Linked DNA regions of Homo sapiens: regions 1, 2, 3, 4, 5 and 7 are each linked to region 6. The links are contacts of gene promoters, found by promoter capture Hi-C in blood cells and fetal thymus (Javierre and others, 2016). All regions are on one chromosome and are shown on one strand. The core of a region is centred on a gene start or on the middle of the fragment in contact, and the rest is flanking DNA. Distances in the headings are between cores, read along the strand shown. Region 1 has its middle 62 kb from the start of LINC00895. Region 2 has its middle 44 kb from the start of LINC00895. Region 3 has its middle 24 kb from the start of LINC00895. Region 4 overlaps CDC45 (cell division cycle 45). Region 5 overlaps UFD1 (ubiquitin recognition factor in ER associated degradation 1). Region 6 holds the start of ESS2 (ess-2 spliceosome associated protein). Region 7 has its middle 60 kb from the start of SEPTIN5.

The links. The method cuts DNA at HindIII sites, captures the fragments that hold promoters and counts their contacts. A CHiCAGO score of 5 or more calls a contact.
Region 1: a contact is called between a fragment that was not itself captured here and the fragment with the promoter of ESS2 in region 6, in 16 of 17 cell types (total CD8 T cells, fetal thymus, total CD4 T cells and 13 more). The highest score is 44.5, in total CD8 T cells.
Region 2: a fragment that was not itself captured here is called in contact with the fragment with the promoter of ESS2 in region 6 in 10 of 17 cell types (total B cells, naive CD8 T cells, naive CD4 T cells and 7 more); the score reaches 10.9 in total B cells.
Region 3: a fragment that was not itself captured here is called in contact with the fragment with the promoter of ESS2 in region 6 in 4 of 17 cell types (naive CD4 T cells, total B cells, naive CD8 T cells and 1 more); the score reaches 6.1 in naive CD4 T cells.
Region 4: a contact is called between a fragment that was not itself captured here and the fragment with the promoter of ESS2 in region 6, in 5 of 17 cell types (total B cells, fetal thymus, naive CD8 T cells and 2 more). The highest score is 7.8, in total B cells.
Region 5: a contact is called between a fragment that was not itself captured here and the fragment with the promoter of ESS2 in region 6, in 9 of 17 cell types (total B cells, naive B cells, naive CD4 T cells and 6 more). The highest score is 14.5, in total B cells.
Region 7: a contact is called between a fragment that was not itself captured here and the fragment with the promoter of ESS2 in region 6, in 2 of 17 cell types (erythroblasts and M0 macrophages). The highest score is 6.2, in erythroblasts.

What each region holds. Positions count from the first base shown.
Region 1 is chr22:19,627,049-19,629,748 of GRCh38, reverse strand. No RefSeq gene overlaps it. Among named protein-coding and RNA genes, the nearest start is that of LINC00895, 62 kb to the right of the region's middle. RefSeq lists a cis regulatory region at 2,167-2,247. The HindIII fragment of the contact is 4,083 bases long and covers 1-2,700 here.
Region 2 is chr22:19,609,358-19,612,057 of GRCh38, reverse strand. No RefSeq gene overlaps it. Among named protein-coding and RNA genes, the nearest start is that of LINC00895, 44 kb to the right of the region's middle. The HindIII fragment of the contact is 5,630 bases long and covers 1-2,700 here.
Region 3 is chr22:19,589,127-19,591,826 of GRCh38, reverse strand. No RefSeq gene overlaps it. Among named protein-coding and RNA genes, the nearest start is that of LINC00895, 24 kb to the right of the region's middle. The HindIII fragment of the contact is 711 bases long and covers 985-1,695 here.
Region 4 is chr22:19,487,998-19,490,697 of GRCh38, reverse strand. The region is part of intron 5 of CDC45 (cell division cycle 45); the gene reads right to left. Among named protein-coding and RNA genes, the nearest start is that of CDC45, 9.4 kb to the right of the region's middle. The HindIII fragment of the contact is 7,762 bases long and covers 1-2,700 here.
Region 5 is chr22:19,470,004-19,472,703 of GRCh38, reverse strand. UFD1 (ubiquitin recognition factor in ER associated degradation 1) reads left to right here. Exons shown (of 12, transcript NM_005659.7): 4 at 896-1,017. Among named protein-coding and RNA genes, the nearest start is that of UFD1, 7.8 kb to the left of the region's middle. The HindIII fragment of the contact is 3,344 bases long and covers 1-2,700 here.
Region 6 is chr22:19,143,337-19,146,036 of GRCh38, reverse strand. It overlaps ESS2 (ess-2 spliceosome associated protein), which reads left to right and starts at 1,386. Exons shown (of 10, transcript NM_022719.3): 1 at 1,386-1,531. The coding sequence starts at 1,397. RefSeq lists an enhancer at 1,811-2,317. The HindIII fragment of the contact is 3,418 bases long and covers 991-2,700 here.
Region 7 is chr22:19,652,901-19,655,600 of GRCh38, reverse strand. No RefSeq gene overlaps it. Among named protein-coding and RNA genes, the nearest start is that of SEPTIN5, 60 kb to the left of the region's middle. RefSeq lists a silencer at 1,961-2,184. The HindIII fragment of the contact is 4,518 bases long and covers 1-2,700 here.

The sequences.
Region 1 (2,700 bases), core at 80-2,579, 480 kb before region 6:
GTCGTTTTACTGATTCCCTGCAATAAGACAGGGGAAGGGGCACCTCTGTTTCCTTTTCTCCTCCCATCCCAAATTTCTGGAGCCTCCAGCCTCCATTCTCCTCTCCAGCCAAGGGCTGTGAGGCGCTGCCTCTCTTTGGATGACTGCTCTGTGTAATGCTCGGAGTGCACTGATCGGTCACATGACAGTCGGGCAATTAGGAGACGCAGGAGAGTCCCCGGCCCCCACTATGATGCTTCTCCCTGCAGAATGCATCTTCTCCTCCCCTCACCACCCTCCTCAGCGGTGCTCTGCCAGGAGGACTACTGGAAACGAGCAGCCCTGGGCTCTCTGCTTCACAGCCAAGGGGGGACGTTGCCGGGTGGGAACCTTCAGCTCCTGTGCGGTGATATTCAATCCTGGTTCCAACAAGGGGCGGGTTTCCACCTTACACCATCAGGGCGCACACTGCTCCCATAAGAAAAGAGATCACCAGGGATTAAAAAATATAGGTAGAAGGAATAAGTTCTAGTATTTGAAAGTAGAGTAGGAAAGTTATAGTTAACGATAATGAATTGTGTATTTCTGGGGTTGTTTTGTTTTGTTTTGAGACGGAGTCTCACTCTGTTGCCCAGGCTGGAGTGCAGTGGCACAATCTCAGCTCACTGCAACCTCCGTCTCCCAGGTTCAAGAGATTCTCCTGCCTTAGCCTCCTGAGTAGCTGGGATTACAGGTGCCTGCCACTGCGCCCAGCTAATTTTTTGTATTTTTTAGTAGAGACGGGGTTTCACCATGTTGGCTAAGCTGGTCTCGAACTCCTGATCTCAGGTGATCCACCTGTCTCAGTCTCCCAAAGTGCTGGGATTACAGGCATGAGCCACCACGCCCGGACTGTATATTTCAAAATAACTAGAATTGGAATGTTCCCAACACAAAGAAAAAACAAATGTTTGAGGAGATGAATAACCCAACGACCCTGATTAGAACATTATAGATTATATACATGTATCAAAATATCATATGTGCCCCAAAATATGCACAATTCTGAAATATCAATAAAAAAGAAAAGAGATCTATTACACAGCAGGGTGACTACAGTCGATAATAATAAGGTGTCGAACATCAACAGACGAATGGGTGAAGCCAATGTGGTACAAATACACCGTGGAGTACTACGAAGCCATGAAAAAAGAGTGAGATCCTATCATTTGCAACAGCATGGATGGAATTGGAGATCATTATGTTAAGTGAAATAAGCCAGGCACAGAAAGACAAATTTTACTCATTTGTGGGAGCTGAAATTAAAATTCCCAAAGACACCTTTCACACGTCTGAAAGCCCCCTTCTAACCACTTCATTCACAGCAGCATCATTCTCAACAGCCAAAAGGAGGGACCCACCCAGTGTCTCTCCACGGATGAGTGGAAAAACAAAATGTGGTGTAAACCTGCCATGGAGTATCATTCCGCCTTTGACAGGAAGGAACTTCTGACACAGGCCACAATATGGATGAAACGACATTCTGCTGAGTAAAACCAACCAGACACAAAAGTTGCATGACTCCAATTATAAGAGTCGTCAAATTCCCAGAGACAGAAAGTAGAATCGTGGTTGCCAGGGGCTGGGAGAAGAAGACATGGGGAGTTTAATGGGCACAGAATTACAGTTTAGGAAGATGAAGACCTTCTGGAAATGGGCAGTGGTGCTGGTTGTACAACAGTGTTAATGTACTTAATACCACAGAACTGTACACTTTAAAATGGTTAGAAAGAATGGTAAATTTTGGCCGGGTGCGGTGGCTCACGCCTGTAATCCCAGCACTTTGGGAGGCCGAGGCGGGCGGATCAATAGGTCAGGAGATCAAGACCATTTTGGCTAACACAATGAAACCCCGTCTCTACTAAAAATACAAAAAATTAGCCAGGCGCGGTGGCGGGCGCCTATAGTCCCCTGCTCGGGAGGCTGACGCAGGAGAATGGCGTGAACACGGGAGGCGGAGCTTGCAGTGAGCCGAGAGAACGCCACTGCAGTCCCGCCTGGGCGAAAGAGCGAGACTCCGTCTGAAAAGAAAAGAAAAGAAAAGGAAGAATGGTAAATTTTATGTTATGTAGTTATGTATATTTTACCATGATTTAAAAAAATGACCACGAAAGTTACCCCTTCCAAATGGCAGCACTCCATCAGGAAGGGAGCTTCGAGGCCCAGGGGCTGGCATCAAACCACCCAGCTTGACAAGGGATTCTGCACCCTGGAAGAAGACACACGGCCGGCAGCAATGGTCCCAGGACTGGCGCACGCCATTGGGGAGCATCACGCCCAGGCGCAAGAGGGACAAGGCCTGGTGCCCTGGAGCCTCCTCAGCTCTGACCAGGCTTCCTTCTCCCAGAGACAGGGTGAAGCTGGCCTGGACACGGCCTGGGGTGCCCTCCATGACAGAGCGTTCACATACTTTCACGCTACAGGTTTGCTCCCGCCCCTGCCCCTTCCCCGTCAAAGTTCCTACAGCTGCCATGGGCTCTGCCGCGACCAAACAGAAGACCCAGCCCATAAGCCCATCTTGCCATCTGGCATCCTGCTCCAACACTGGGGCAAGGCAGAGTCTTGGCAAAGTGAAGCAGAAGACAGGCTTGGGGGATGGAGGAAGTAGACCCCATTTGCAGAGCCTGTGCTTTGCAAATGCTTCTCCCTGATGGCAGCTCTGGACTGTCAATCTGTACCTAC
Region 2 (2,700 bases), core at 74-2,573, 470 kb before region 6:
TTTTTTTTTTTTTTTGGTCTGATCAACTTCATAAAGATGATTTTTAAAATGCCCAGCTCTGAGTGCAGGTCCTCAGCTTTACTCCTGAATGTGAGCCTCGCTGAGTCCGAAGCCGGTCGCAGGCCTGGGAAACCAGGGTGGGCTGAGGAGGCAACGGGAGGCAGAAGGGCCAGCAGGAAGGATGGGACCCCAGGCTAGGCTGGGGGGTCAGCAGCAGACATGGGTTGAAGGGGAGTGGGTCATGGGAAGGGCCTGTGCAGGATGGAGCCCAGCAGGGGATGGGAGAGGACACAAAGCCAGGCAGAAGGCGGTGATGGCAGCAGAGAGGAGCACCCAGGGGCCGCCGCTTGGCCACGAGTGTAGGCCACCCAGGGGCCGCCGCTTGGCCACGAGTGTAGGCCCACGGTGCCCTCAGCACAGTGCCCCAGGGCTCGCCAGCCACCCAGGACCGAGACTCGTAGTGCTGGGGGGCTGCAGCTCCTTCCCATCCTTTCCTAGGGCTGCCTCTAGCCCCCATCTCTCCAAATTAGCAGGGGAGCTGGAGCCCCTAAGACCCCAGCCTCACATCATCCTCACGCCTCTGTTGGGAGCCATGCCCTGCTGCACCCGAATCTTCTGTTTCTCCCTGACCATGGGCTCCTGAAGTTCGAGGCCTGTGGTTGTTCCTCTCTTCAACTTGGTTGCTGCGGTGAGTTTCTGGGAGGTTTGTCTTACTAGATTCTGTGCTTCCCTCCACCATGGGAACCTGGAATCTCTGTTTTGCTTTTTAGCATGCAGGTAATTTCCAGCCTTTACATCTGCCTATCAGACAAATCCTATCTTCATACCTCAGGCAGTATCACCCCCAACGTGTGGTCTAAATTTGGACTTCTGTATGCATGAACTCACCTCGAGGGCAGCCTCAATGTAGGCGTAGTGGGGGGATTGGGGTGGCGGTGGGGCTTGTTGCTGCCCCTGTGTGAGCTTCCTGCTGAACACCAAGGCGAGGGTTTACAAATTCCTGGGTCAGTGGAGGGGCCTCTGGGCATACGGGCTTTGGGAGTGGGGGCGCCCCAGCACGGGGAGGCACCCTGGCTGCCTCAACTAGAGATGCTTTGCTTATTTCTTCCATGACACAATTACCAGGGAAGATTTTATTTAAAGAAAGACTTTACTACTACAAATCGAAACAAATCGAAAGCCACTGTATTATTGCCTTTCTCCCTCTTGTTTTGTGGAAAACCACATGGCCCACTGTGATGCAAAATGAGAACTAAGACCTGCTAAGGAGCAGAAGTGGGGGTGTGAGGGGGGAGGGGCTCCACCAGCGGCAGGTGTGGTGGTGCTGCAGGTGAGACATGAAGGAAACAGCCTGGCGTGGCCCTTAACAGGCCAAGTCCCTGGGCCCTTCTGCCGCAGACTGCACCTTCCCACAGCACTAGAGCCGCTAGGCTGGGGGGTTGTCCCTCACCTCACCAATCTGCAGAGCAAGCAGCCCTGTCCCTTGGCTTGCTAAGAGCTGCAGGGGAGTCAGTGACTTACTCAGGAGCAGGCAGGTCATGGGGAGCCAGCCTCTGCACAAGCTCTACCCTGGGCAGCAGTCACCGCTGTGCCCCCGCCCCACAGAAGCCACAGGGCTGTGACAGCCCCCACAATGCACATGAGGAGGGGCAGGAGTTGGCTGCAGAAAGGGAATGATGGGAAGAGGAAAAATGCTGGCTCCTGGCAGCTGAGCCTTTTTTTTTTTTGAGATAGAGTCTCTGTTGCCCAGGCTGGAGTACAGTGGAGCAGTCTCGGCTGACTGCAACCTCAGCCTCCCAGGTTCAAGCGGTTCTCCTGCCTCAGCCCTTGAGTAGCTGGGATTACAGGCATATGCCACCACAACTGGCTAATTTTTGTATTTTTTAATAGAGACGGGGTTTCACCATGTTGGCCAGGGGGGACCTCCAACTCCTGACCTCAAGTGATCCACCCTCCTCGGCCTCCCAAAGTGCTGGGAACCACCGCACCCGGCCTTTTTTTTTTTTTTTTTTTTTTTGAGAAAGTTCTTGCTCTGTCACCCAGGCTGGAGTGCAGTGCAACAATCGCAGCTCACTGCAGCCTCGAACTGGCCTCAAGGGATCCTCCCGTCTCAGCTCCCTGAGCAGCTAAGACTGCAGGCACATGCCACCATGCCTGGTTTTTTAAATTTTTTCTTTTTTTAGTAGACACAAGGTCTCACTATGTTGCCCAGGCTGGTCTCAAACTCCTGGGCTCAAGTGATCCTCCTACCTCGGCCTCTCAAAGTGCTGGAATTACAGGCATGAGCCACGACACCTGGCTGCAGCTAAATTTTGAAGAGAACCTTGCTCTGTTTATTTTCTTTCCTTTCCTTTTTTATTTTTTATTTATTTTTTGAGACAGGGTCTCACTTTTTTGCCCAGGCTGGAGTGCAGTGGTGCAATCTCAGCTCACTGCAACCTCCACCTCCCTGGCTTAAGCAATTCTCCTGCCTCAGCCTCCAGAGTGGCTGGGACTACAAGCATGTGCCACTATGCCTGGCTAATTTTTGCATTTCTCTGTAGAGACGGGGTTTTGTCATGTTGCTCAGGCTGGTCCCGAACTTCTGGACTGAAGTGATCCTTCCCAGGAAGGAAGCCACACCCAGGCACACACCCTGGGCCTTGATAATACAGGTGCTGGGACTATAGGTATGAGCCACAATGCCTGGCCTCCTTTTGT
Region 3 (2,700 bases), core at 91-2,590, 450 kb before region 6:
GACCCACCAGCTCCCACAAGGGCAAAAGAAAGCCCTTCTTGGCAGAATTCCTGTGGACCCAGCTGGGCAGGCAGAGCCCCTGTGGCCTGTGTGGCCCGTGGCCTCAGGGGGAGCTGGAAAAACAGCAGATGCATTAGGAATGAAGAGCTGTAGACATCCGCATCAGACCCCACAACACAACACACTATTTTTTACTGTATTTTATTTATTTTGTTTTGTTTTTAGAGATAGAGTCTTGCTCTGTCACCCATGCTGGAGTGCAGTGTGAAATCACAGCTCACTGCAGCCTCAAACTCCTTGGCTCAAATGATCCTCCCACTTCAGCCTCCCAAGTAGCTGGAACTACAGGTGCATGCCACCATCCTTAGCTAATTTTTTAATTTTTATTTTAGGAGAAACAGGGTCTCACTCTGTTGCCCAGGCTGGTCTTGAACTCCTGGCCTCAAGTGATCCTCCCGCCTTGGCCTCCTAAAGTGCTGTGATTACGGGCGTAAGCCATTATGCCCAGCCAATACATATATTTTAAAATGAAAATCTCTATAGCTATGGACTTGGAAGTCTATAATTTGAAGGCCCTCTATATTAGATGAAGAGGCCACAAAGCTTCCCTTTTAACAAACACGTTGAGAGATGGCACCAGGCACCGTGTAGCCTTCATGCTGGACCAGGCTGTTCTGTGGAATCTTGAGAGGCTATGCATCCTGGGACCACAGTAACCAAATTGCTGAAAACAGCCATGAGGAAACCCAGGTGTGTGAAGCCAGGCTCAGTCACAGTCAGGGGCACCTGCAGCATCACGCAGGCTTGTTCTCACTACCGAGGCGATTCTGCCAGGTACTCTGCATGCACCCTGCTGTCTGCTGTGCTTCTTCCTGCTCAAGGGATGGGGAAAAGACATGCCTGGAGCGAGGGCACTACCCCCAAGTCCTGGCAATGCCCTCATAGGATGTCTGGGCTGGAGGATTCCCTCAGGCTTGGCAAGCTTCACCTTCCTGCTCTGTGAGGGAGATGGACTACAGTATGTGGCCTCTAAAGATGACCCCTTCCACAACACCCTACTGTCTGTCTGTCTGAGGAGCACATGCATCTGTTCTCATGTCCACAGGCTTGTCTGCCTCAGCCCCAGCTCGCTGCAGCTTCTACGGAGACCCAGGTGAGCAGTGTTGATTGCAAAGTTTAGAGATTTCATTCACACTGATTTTCAGTAATAGTATGACAACAATAATGAGATCAGCCATCCTTACATTATAGCATCTGCATTTGTCAGGTCCCACTTAAGTCATTTACATATATTTGCTCATTTAAACTGCACAATCACTTCAAGAATGATAACAGTATCAGTACCTCCATTAGGGGTGAGGAAACTGAGGCACCGAGAGTCCACGTTGCCCAAAACTGAATGGCGAGTCACTGGCACCCATTTTAAGATACACACACAGAGATGTGTGTAGAGCATATAAACAACATATGTATATATGTTTAAAACCAAAAACCTTCATTGTTGTTCACTGTATCCAGTTTTGGAGAAAATGGAACCTTTGCGCATTGCTTGTGGGAATGCAAAATGGTGCAGCCGCTGTGGAAAACAGTTAGGTGGTTTCTCAAAAATTTGAACACAGAATTACCATATGAGCCATCAATCCCAGTCCTAAGTGTATGCCCTAGATAATTAAAGCAGGAACTGGAACAGAAGCTTGTGCGCCCATGTTCACAGCAGCATTCTTCACAATAGCAAGAGATAGAAGCAGCCCAGGTGTCCAACAGATGAATGGATAAACACAGTGGGGCATCATTCAGCCTCAGAAAGAGATGAAATCCTGATACTGACACATGACACAACATAGATAAACCTGAAAAATATTGGGCTAAGTGACATAAGCCAGACACAAAAGGACAAATACCGTACGAGTCGTTATATGGGGTACCTAGAATAATCAAATTTGTAGAGCGAAAGTGAGATGGTGGTTGGTGGTTACCAGGGGCTAGGGGAGGGGGAATGGGATTTAGGGACAGAGTTTCTCTTTAGGGTGATGAAAAGGTTCTGGAATATATATACATATATATACACACACACACATATATATATATATATATATACACACACACACATATATATATATATATATACACACACATATATATATATATATATATGTATGTATGTATATATTCATTCCAGAGAGAGAGAGAGAGAGGAAATCACAACATTCCTCTCAGTAAGATCAGTTTGGTTTAAGATGGAGAAGGGATTGATGGAAGGCAAAACTATAGAAAAATGAATTTCTGTAGTAACACAGGTGAGAAGAAATGAAGAGTTACTTAAATAGCAACTGAAGAGATCGATTAGAGAGATATTAGGGGATTAAAATTGATAGAACTTGGTAATTATTGGAATTGAAAAGAGGTAGAAGAAGGAACCAAAAATAATTCCCAAGTGTCTGGTGTGGCCAACGGGATGGGACAGTGGCTCTGCTCACTGGTTTAATTATTCAGGAGCTTAGAAGGACCATTCCATAATTCTCCTCCATCACTGTTCTAGGAGTTACCAGCAGGTCATGAGGAAGAAGATAGTTATTTTTAAAAAATCATTTGAGGAGTACTGTTCAGCGATCAAAAGGAATAAATGTGGCCGGGTGCAGTGGCTCACACCTGTAATCCCATCACTTTGGGAGACGAAGGTGGGAGGATCACTTGAGGCCG
Region 4 (2,700 bases), core at 166-2,665, 340 kb before region 6:
CACTAGAGGAAAGAAAAAGAAAGAAAACAGGCTGGACGCAGTGGCTGTAATCCCAGCACTTTGGGAGGCTGAGGTGGGCGGATCACCTGAGGTCAGGAGTTTGAGGCCAGCCTGCCCAACAAGGTGAAACCCCATCTCTACTAAAAATACAAAAAATTAGCTGGGCGTGGTGGCACGTGCCTGTAGTCCCAGCTACTCAGGAGGCTGAGGCAGGAGAATTGCTTGAACCTGGGAGGCAGAGGTTGCAGTGAGCCAAGATCGCGCCACTGCATTCCAGCCTGGGCAACAGAGCGAAACTCCATCTCAAAAAAATAAAAATACAAATAACAAAGAACAAGAAAAAAATAGAATAAAAAAAACAGAGACCAGGAAACAGAAAATAAAATGTCAGACTTAAGCCCTAACATGTCAGTAACTAAAATAAATGTAAGTAAGCTAAGTTTATCAATTAAGAGATAGAGAATGGCTTTAAAAAACATGATTTAAAAATATGAGCCAACTGTATGCTGTTTTAAAAAATTCACTACAAATGTAACAATATAGGCAGAATGAAACTAAAGAATGTGAAAAGATATATCGTGCAAACATTAATCAAAGGAGAGCAGGAGTGGCAATATTAATATCAGATAAATCACACTTCAGAGCAAAGCAAATTACCAGAGACAGAGTGGGACACTAAGTGAATAAAAGGGTCAATCCACCAAAAGGACACCACAATCCTAAATGTGTGCGCACAAGAGAGCTATAAATACGTGAAGTAAAAAGTGATAGAACTGGAAGGAGAAACAAACAAATCTATAATCAGAGTTGGGGTCTTCAATGTCCCTTTCTGAAGAGTTGAAAGTATTACTAGCCAGAAAAGCAGCAAGCAAACAGAACTCAACACCACCACCAACTCTCAGTATGTAAGTGACATTTCTAAAAAACTCTACCCAACAACAGCAGACTATGCATTTTTTTGACTGACTGCAAATGATACTGTATTTTAAATTTTGGTGTCCACGTATTTATGGCTAGCACGCAGAAATAATAAATATTGTTTGTTTTTATGCAGGTATAAATCTAACAAAAACAGAAAATTTATACACTGAAAACTGCACAATGCTGATGGACGAGAAAGGAATGAGCCATTGATACAAGCAAACATGGATGAATCTCCAAGAATTATGCAGAGCGAAAAAAAGCCAATCCCAAAAGGCTACATACTGTATAATTCCATTTCCATTTCCATAATATTGTTGAAATGAAATTACAGAAATGGAGCTCTCTAGTGGTTACCAGGCAGCAGACAAGTGGGTGTGGCTATAAAAGGGCAACAGAGGGATCCTTACAGTGCTGGAAATGTTCTGTATCTTTTTTTTTTTTTTTAAAGCAATACCCATGGGTTATTTTGGCAGTTTCTGAATGCATAAATGGAATAGACATATTCAGTTTCTGGCAGAACTTTCACAGTGATTTCTAACCTTTAGAGTGCCAACTGAAAAATCACATGATTTATAAATTTAGAAAGGAGACTTTCTTTTCTTTAGAGATAGTCTCAGTTGCCCAGGCTGGAATGCAGTTGTGTGCTCACAGCTCACTGCAGCCTCGACTTACTGGGCTCAGGTGATTCTCCCACCTCAGCCTCCCAAGTAGCTGGGACCATAGGTGTGCACCACCACACCTGGCTAATTTTTGTAGTTTTTGTAGAGACAGGGTTTTGCCATGTTGCCCAGGCTGGTCTCCAACTCCTGGGCTCAAGTGATCCGCCTGCCTTAGCCTCCCATCCTGACCGTGATATTATACTACAGGATTTTACCATTGGGGGAAGCTGGGCAAAGTATATAAGTGATCTCTCTATATTACTTCTTACAACTACATGTGAATCTGTAATTATCTCAAAAGAAAAACTTTAATTAAAAAAAAGCCATGGTCCTGGTGAGGAAACTTTTTGCGGGTAATGGAATTGTTCTCTATCATGGTGGGATGGTGGTTGCATCTTTATACATTTGTTAAATCTCATTGAATTGTACCACCTAGTGAATTGTGTAGACATTATGCCTCAATAAAGTAACAAAATTCCCACAGCCTGAGATTTCTTTGACCCTGCCACAATGCATGGTGGGGTCCTGTCCCCTCCCTTGTGGCTACTGGATGCTGAGGTACTCCAAGGCTGGTCGGGAGAGCCATGCAGTGGCTGCCCGGGTGACTGGAATATTCATGCTGGAAGCCTGAGCAGTCATGTTGTAAGGAAGTCACATTCAATGGAGAGACCCTGCAGGTGCTTGGCTCAGTAGTCCTGGTTTGGAGCCCTCCCAGCAGATGTCTGAGCCATGCTTCCAGTTCTTAGCCATTGAGTCCCCACCTGAGGGCCCAGATATCACAGATCAAAAAGATGTCATCCTCACTGGGCTCTGCCCAAATTCCTAACCTACAGAATCCATGAGCATAAGGAAAAGGTTGTTTTAAGCTGCTAGGTTCTGGAGTAATTTGTTAAACATCAGTAGGAACCAAAACAATTAAGTCTAGTTATTCTCCTTATTTTACAATGGCACACAGAGGTTAAGTCACTTGCCTACAGTCACAAAGCTGTTATAGCAGATACAAAATTTGAAACCCGTGACCTGAGCCACGATATTATAGCACCTGTAGATTAAGTATAATTATGGTTATTTTTATAGCGGACTCTCATCTTTGCTGGGGTCCAGCTCTAACATCCAA
Region 5 (2,700 bases), core at 128-2,627, 330 kb before region 6:
GGGAAGACTGAACAAGGGCCTTACACATGGCAAACACCATCACTACCATCAGTTCCTTCTCGGTCTTCTCCCGGGGGCCCAGTGTCTCCTGGGTTTTCCTGCCTCTTTTTGCCAGCCCTTCCTTTATGTGCCTGTGCACCTCTTGGGTCAGCACGTCACCAGTCCAGCTTACTTGCCTCTGGCCTTGCTTTCAGCCCACACCTCAAGGTCCATCAGAGAGAGGGGGCGTCCTATGTCATGACCCTGCTGAGAGCTCACACTGCCCGCTGGGCCCAGGCCCTAGGTTCTACCCCGTGTGGTGCCCCTCCCCTTCCCAACCACTCGCACACCTGTCCCCAGCCTGTCTTGCCTAATTATCCACCATTTCTGAACTGCCTGGGCTCCTCTTCCCTTCCACGCCTTTGCTCAGGCTGCCACCTCTGCCTGGATTTCCTCCCAGGTCTGCCCGCCCAGTGCCCAGCCTAAAGAACTCGGCCTCTAGGAGCCTAGCCCAGTAGCTCTGCCCCCTCCTGCCAGCTCTTCCCACAGCACCTGCAGCATCTGGTTGTGGTTTTCTTTGTTGGAAGGTTTCTACCTTCAAACTAGAAACCTTTGAAGGTCGGGATTTTGTCCAGGGCATGGTGGGCACTGAAATTATTTATGAATAAATGAATGAACACATCACTTTTTAAAATGTTGACTTCAGAAAATCACAAGTCTATGCCAGTGCTGTGTTACCAAGTTGCCAGGTTCCTCCTTGAGCCGTGCACTGTGCTCTCACAGAGGGGGATTCATCTGCCAGAGGAGTGTGGGGTTGAGGGCAGGATTGTGGGGAGGCTCCTTCTATGGGAAGGCGTGGGCCGAACAGGTGTCCCTTCATAGGAGCTGTGCCTCATAGTCTCTCTCTTATTTTCAGGCCGACTTAACATTACCTATCCCATGCTGTTCAAACTGACCAATAAGAATTCGGACCGCATGACGCATTGTGGCGTGCTGGAGTTTGTGGCTGATGAGGGCATCTGCTACCTCCCACACTGGGTGAGTGGGGCTGCCAGGGTCTCTAGAGAGCAGCCACTTAGGCAGAGACATCTCCTGCACTCGAGAGTCCTGGCCCTGGAGCAGGTGGCCCCGCCTACTCCTCCTGCTCAGCGTCTTAGCCTGAGCCGACCCAGCGAGAGAGAAGGGATCCAGAGCAGTGCACTGTGCCTTATGCGGGCTGGTGGGCTCTGGACGCACCTGTGGGCCACTGTGCTGTGGGAGTGGCCTTTTCTTTGATAGTTGCGCAGCTGAACTGTTCATCTGTGATTTCCTGGGTGAGGCGTTTTTAAAAATAATGGAGCAACAGTATTTTTTAGGTGGTCTAGTAAGTAGGGTGTTTGAGGTTTTTATGCTTTTCCCCTACTTTTAGTAGTCTGTCACAGCATACATGTTTTCAGTTACCTCTGACGTAGTCTCCCAAATCTCTCAACTGAGCTGCCATGGGAGTGACGTCTTTTTCCTTACAAGCAGGCTCTCTTTGGAAAGTTGACTTGAAGGATGTCATTGCAGATCTGGGCTGGGATATCCAGGGCGTGTGAGCCACCAGAGCCTGCCCTCAAGGCTGTACCCCTCAGAGAAGTGAGCAGAACTGTGCCAGTGCTGTAGGGAGGAGCCTGCAGCAGTGAGAGTTCCACACAGGTAGCTGTGGCCCACTTGGCTCCTTCTTCTCCTCACTCCTCTCCCCAGCTCTGGCACATTAGGGAAGTTCACAAAGGGACCTGCTTGTCCTTCTCTTTGTGCTTGGATTACATCAGGCATACTGAGAGACCCCGCAGTGAGCTGTGGGCTGGAAACTCTCAGGAGTGCTTGCTTGGCTGCCACCAGGGAGGTGGTCTGAAGCACAGCCCACCTCTCCTGCTGATGCCCTATCATGGTGGCCGCCAGACGTTCAGAAGGGATGGCCTTAACTAATATTTTCTGAGATTAAATATGAATTGAAATTCTGGCCAGGTACGGTGGCTCACGCCTCTAATCCCAGCACTTCGGAAGGCCAAAGTGGGCAGATCACTTGAGGTCAGGAGTTCGAGACTAGCCTGGCCAACATGGTGAAACCCCGTCTCTACTAAAAATACAAAGACTAGCCGGGTGTGGTGGCACGTGCCTGTAGTCCTAGCTACTTGGGAGACCGAGGCAAGAGAATGGCTTAAACCCAGGAGGCTTAGGTTGCAGTGAGCCGAGATCATGCCATTGCATTCCAGCCTGGGCGACAGAGCGAGACTCCATCTCAAAAAAAAAAAACAACAATAATATGAATCAAAATTCTGAAGGTCTCTTTCCTGCTGTAGCAGGTGACCTTGCCCATGCTGCCATGGTAGTGGCATCCTCTTCAGCCTGGGTCCCAGGGTCCTTCCCAAGGTCTGGGCCTGGCCAGTGTCTCCCCGACAAGAGCCCTGCACTCCCATTGCACCTCCTAGTGCCTGGCCTTCCCATGCTGCCTCCTCACCTCAGCTGACTAGGCCTGCCCAACCTGGCCTGTTGGGGGGCTTTTATGCCTCAAAGCCCAGATTGGCTCACCTGCCCTCCCCAGTATTTGCTGCTCAGCCCCTTGCTATTCTTGTGTTTGTCTGCAGGTGCCCCCAAGGGCCTGAGGCCACATTGTGCTCATCCGGTAGAACACCTGGTCACTGAAGCCACTCTAGGTAGCTGAAGTGTCAGGCAGTGACTACTTCCCCAGTCCCTTCT
Region 6 (2,700 bases), core at 137-2,636:
TTAATTTTTTTTTTTCTTGACAGAGTTTCACTCTGTCACCCAGGCTGTAGTGCAGTGGCACAATCTCTGCTCACTGCAGTTTCCACCTCCTGGGTTTGAGTGATTTTCCTGCCTCAGCCTCCCAAGTAGCTGGGACTACAGGCACCTACCACCACTTTGTATTTTTTTTTTTTTTTAGTAGAGTTGGGGTTTCACCATGTTGGCCAGGCTGGTCTCAATCTCCTGACTTCAAGTGATCCACCTGCCTGGGTCTCCCAAAGTGCTGAGGTTACAGGCGTGAGCCACCGTGCCTGGTCTTGAATGAGAATGATCCCTCTTCTGGGAAGCCCACTCTGGCATTTGGGGGCCCAATAATCTTTTTTTTTTTTTTGACAGAGTTTTGCTCTTGTTACCCAGGCTGGAGTGCAATGGTGCAATCTCAGCTCACTGCAACCTCCGCCTCCTGGGTTCAAGCAATTCTCCAGCCTCAGCCTTCCGAGTAGCTGGGATTACAGGCGTCCACCACCATGCCCAGCTAATTTTTTTGTGTGTTTTTAGTAGAGATGGGGTTTCATCTTGTTGGCCAGGCTGGTCTAGAACTCCTGACCTCAGGTGATCCGCCTGTCTTGGCCTCTCAAAGTTCTGGGATTACAGAATAATCTTTAGACATTTCTTAATCGAACCACTGTCTTGTTCTTTCACCTTTTGTTAGATAACTATAAAAAAAAAAAAAAGATTGTTTTGGCCGGGTGCGGTGGCTCACGCCTGTAATCCAGAGACCAGCCTGACCAACATAGAGAAACCCTGTCTCTACTAAAAATGCAAAATTAGCCGGGCGTGGTGGCCCATGCCTGTAATCCCAGCTACTCGGGAGGCTGAGGCAGGAGAATCCCTTGAACCCGGGAACTCCGGTGAGCCGAGATCATGCCATTGCACTCCAGCCTGGGCAACAAGACCGAAACTCCGTCTCAAAAAAAAAATTGTTTTAAGGCCCTTTTCTTGCATAAAGCTTGAAACTCCTATATAAGTAAATTTCCTGGTTTGTATTTTTGTAGAATAATCTCGAAGCATACATAGTTCTTATTTGTGGGAAATTAGAATTCTAAGGCCTTTGGACGCTGCAAAGCCAGAATTTCTCGCGTGAAGAACACGCCCTATAGCATCCTCCCCGCCACCTCCACAGCACCCCCTCGTGTTCACAGCATTGACAAGCATGAATAGCGCGGGGCAGGACAAGGACTACATTTCCAATAAAGTCTAGCATTTATAGTGACGTCAGAACGGAGCGCGGGCTGGCTTTCTAGAGCCACAGCTTTTCCATTGGCCAACTATTGGAGGCGCCTGCGCAAATGGTGCAGTCCCGCCCCCTCCACCCTGTGACGCGCCTGCTGGGCCCGAGCTTTTTCCTGGGATAGCGATGGAGACGCCGGGCGCATCAGCGTCGTCCTTGTTGCTTCCCGCCGCGTCCAGGCCCCCGAGGAAGCGCGAGGCGGGAGAGGCTGGGGCTGCGACGAGCAAGCAGCGGGTCCTGGACGAGGAAGAGTATATCGAGGTACGACCTCGGTGCGGACGCCGGCGACTTCTGGGCCCATCCTCTGCTTCAAGCTCCTCTCAGGTTCCCTCTCTCGGGTGTTGACACTCCGTCTCCTCGTGGAAGTGGAGGAGCCGGGTGTGGACGGTCCCACGAGTCAAGTAAACAGGGCAGAGGAAGACGTCTGTGGTGGAAGAGGCTGTAGTAGTGTTGTCAGGGAAAAGAGAGAGCGGCTCTCTTTGTATGGGACGGGGGTCAGGGAAAGAAGATTTTCTGTTAAAGTGTGAGTAGGAGTTTGACAAACTGGAAGGATGGTGGCAAAGAGGGCTTTCTAAAGAGCGGTGGCAGCAAGTGTGAATGCTGGGGTTCCTGGAAAGAGACCGCAGTTGTGACAGCATCTCGAGTGAGTGGACCTGCGTCGCCCCACCACACGCACACAGAAGGAGGAGCTGAAACGGGGATTGGCGGAAGTCAGTTTGGTTTTAGACCTGTTTAATTCGGGACACCTTTTGGGATATGTAGATGGATGGCTTTAACGGACGGTTGGGTGCCCAGATATGCAGCTCGGGAGCAAGGTCTGGCTGGAGGTGCAGACTTGGGAATCTCAACTTGTGGTAGTGACTGGCTGAAGTTACTCAGGAAAAAGGTTTATTTTTATTTTATTTTTTGAGACGGAGTCTCGCTCGTCGTCCAGGCTGGAGTGCAGTGGCGCGATCTCGGCTTACTGTAACCAACCTCTGCCTCCTGGGTTCAAGCCATTCTCCTGCCTCAGCCTGCCGAGTAGCTGTGACTACAGGTGCCCGCCACCACGCCCGGCTAATTTTTGTATTTTTAGTAGTGGTGGGGTTTCACCATGTTGGCCAGGCTGGTCTCGAACTCCTGACCTCAGGTGATCCGCCCGCCTTGGCCTCTCAAAGTGCTGGGATTACAGGCGTGAGCTACCATGCCCCGCCAGGAGAAAGGTTTAGATTGGAAATAGAAAGTCATGTGTGGAATGAAAGTGACAACACCCACATTGGTCTGGCTTGTGGGGAGCCAGCAATGGAGAATGAGAATGACCAGTTAGCAAGGGCGAGAGAGAAGGGTTTCACGGACTTCAGAAGAGTGTTTAGTAATGTTAGAGGTTGCAGCATGGCTACCATATGGGATGCTCAACCCCACTAGAAAGTGCCCTCAAGCTCCCTCAATCC
Region 7 (2,700 bases), core at 153-2,652, 510 kb before region 6:
TGGTGCCTGATGTCCACCAATGGATCCAGTAAACCCAACTGGGCCTTGGTGTTTACCTGGAACCTGATGTCCAGCTGGGGCGTAGATTCTCCACCGGGGGACTGGTGTCTGGATTGAGTCTTACAGCTACCTGGGGTGTGGTATCCTCCTGAGGTGTGGCTGTGAACCTGGGGCCTAAAGTCTACTTAGAGTCCAGTGTCTACCTAGAGCCTAGTGTGACCTGGGGCCCTATGTAAACCTGGGGCTTGGTATATTTTAGGTAGCGCCTGGGCCTTTCCTTTTTATGACTAAATAATATTCCACTGTATGGATCTTTTACGTTTTTTTAATCCACTCATCAGTTGATGGCCATCTTTTGACTATTATGTATATATGTTTATAAACATATATGTGGAAACAGGATATTGCTCTGCCACCTGTGTTGGAGTGCAGTGGCACGATCGTAGCTCACTGCAGCCTCCAACTCGTGGGCTCAAGTCAACCTCCTGCCTCTCAAAGCACTGAGATCACAGGTGTTAACCACTGTGTCCCACACGCATTTTTAATTCTTTTAAGTATATGCCCAGGAGTGGAATTGCTGGGTCTTGTGATAACTCAATGTTGAACTTTTCGAGGAACTGCCAAACTGTTTTCCACAGCAGCTGCATCATTTTATATTCTCATCAGCAGTGCATGAGGGTTCCAGTTTTTTCATATCCTTGCCAGTACTTATTATTGTAATATCTTTTTGATTATAGCCATCATCCTAGGGGGTATCTCATTGTGGCTTTGATTTGCATTTCCCGGATGGCTGATGACATTGAGCATCTTTTCATGTGCTTATTGGCCATTTGCATATCTTTGGAGAAATGCCTATTCAAGTCCTTTGTGCATTTTTTTTTTAAAACAGGATCTCACTCCCATCACCCAGGCTGGAGTGTGGATGTCATCACGGCTAACTGCAGCCCCTACTTCCCAGGCTCGGGTGATTCTCTCACCTCAGCCTCCTGAGTAGCTGGGACTACAGGTGTGTGCCATCACACCCAGCTATTTTGTGTGTGTGTGTGTATATATTTTTAGTAGAGATAGGATTTCACAATGCCACCCAGGCTGGTCCTGAACTCCTGGGCTCAAGTGATCCTCCCACCTCAGCCTCGCAAAGTGCTGGGATTACAGACCTGAGCCACCACACTCAGCTCCTTTGTACATTTTTAAATTGTGTTGTCTTTTTATTATTGAGTTGCAAAAGTTATTTTTATATTCTAGTTACAAGTTCCATCAGGGACTTACATATGTATGATTTGCAAAGATTTTCTCCCATTCTTTGTGTTGTCTTTTTCACTTCTTTATAGAGTCCTTTGAAGCATAAAAGTATTTACATTTATTGATTTAATGAATACTTTTATTTTTAAATAATTTATTTAATAATTTATCATTTATCTATTTTTTTGGTTGCTTATGCTTTTGATGTCGTATCTTAGAAACCATTGCCAAATCCAAGGTCGTGAAGATTCATACCTCTATTTTCTTTTAAGACTTTTATAGTTTTAGTTCTTATACTTAGTCTTTGATCAATTCTGAGCTAATTTTTGTATATGGTATGAGGTGGAGCCTAACTTCATTCTTTTGCATGTGGATATATCCAGTTGTCTCAGCACAATTGTTGAAAAGAATACTCTTTCCCCCATTAAGTCTTTTTGGCATCCTTATCAAAACTCAGTTAGCCATAAATATGAGGGTCTATTTCTAGACTCTAAATTCCATTCCATTCATCTATATGTCTTTTTTTTTTTTTTTTTTTTTGAGAGAGTCTCACTCTGTTGCCCAGGCTGGAGTGCAGTGGCGCGATCTCGGCTCACAGCAATCTTCGCCTTCCGGGTTCAAGCAATTCTCCAGCCTCAGCCTCCTGAGTAGCTGGGATTACAGGCATGAGCCACTACACCTGGCTAATTTTTGTATTTTTAGTAGAGATGGGGTTTCTTTCTTTCTTTTTTTTTTTTTTGGACAGAGTTTTGCTCACTGCAACCTCTGCCTCACGGGTTCAAGTGATTCAGCCTCCCAAGTAGCTGAGACTATAGGCGCACACCACCAAGTCTGGCTAATTTTTTTATTTTTAGTAGAGACCAGGTTTCACCATATTGGCCAGGCTGGTCTCAAACTCCTGACCTCAGGTGATCCACCCATCTTGGCCTCCCTAAGTGCTAGGGTTACAGGTGTGAGCCACCACGCCCGGCCTATATGTCTATTTTTATGCCAGTGTCACATCGTCTCCCTCACTATAGCTTTGTAGCAAGTTTTGGGATCAGCAAGTGTGAGTCCTCAACATTGCTCTTATTTTGTTTTTCAAGATTGTTTTTGTTATTCTGGACCCCTTACATTTCCATATGAATTTAAGATCAGCTTGCCCATTTCTGCAAAGAAGTCAGGTGGCACTGAGTTTGTAGATCAATTTGGGGAGTATTGCATTATTACAGTTGATCCTTGAACAACCCAGGTTTGAATGACACAGGTCCACATATGAACACATTTTCTTCTGCCTCTGCCACCCCTGAGGCAGCAAGGCTAACCCCACCCTTCCTTCTCCTCCTTGGATGTGAAGGCAGCAAGGATGAAGATCTTTATGATGATCCACTTTCACTTAATGAATAGGAAGCATATGTTATCTTCCTTGTGATTTTCTTAATAACATTTTCTTTTCTCTAGCTTACTTTACTGTAACAT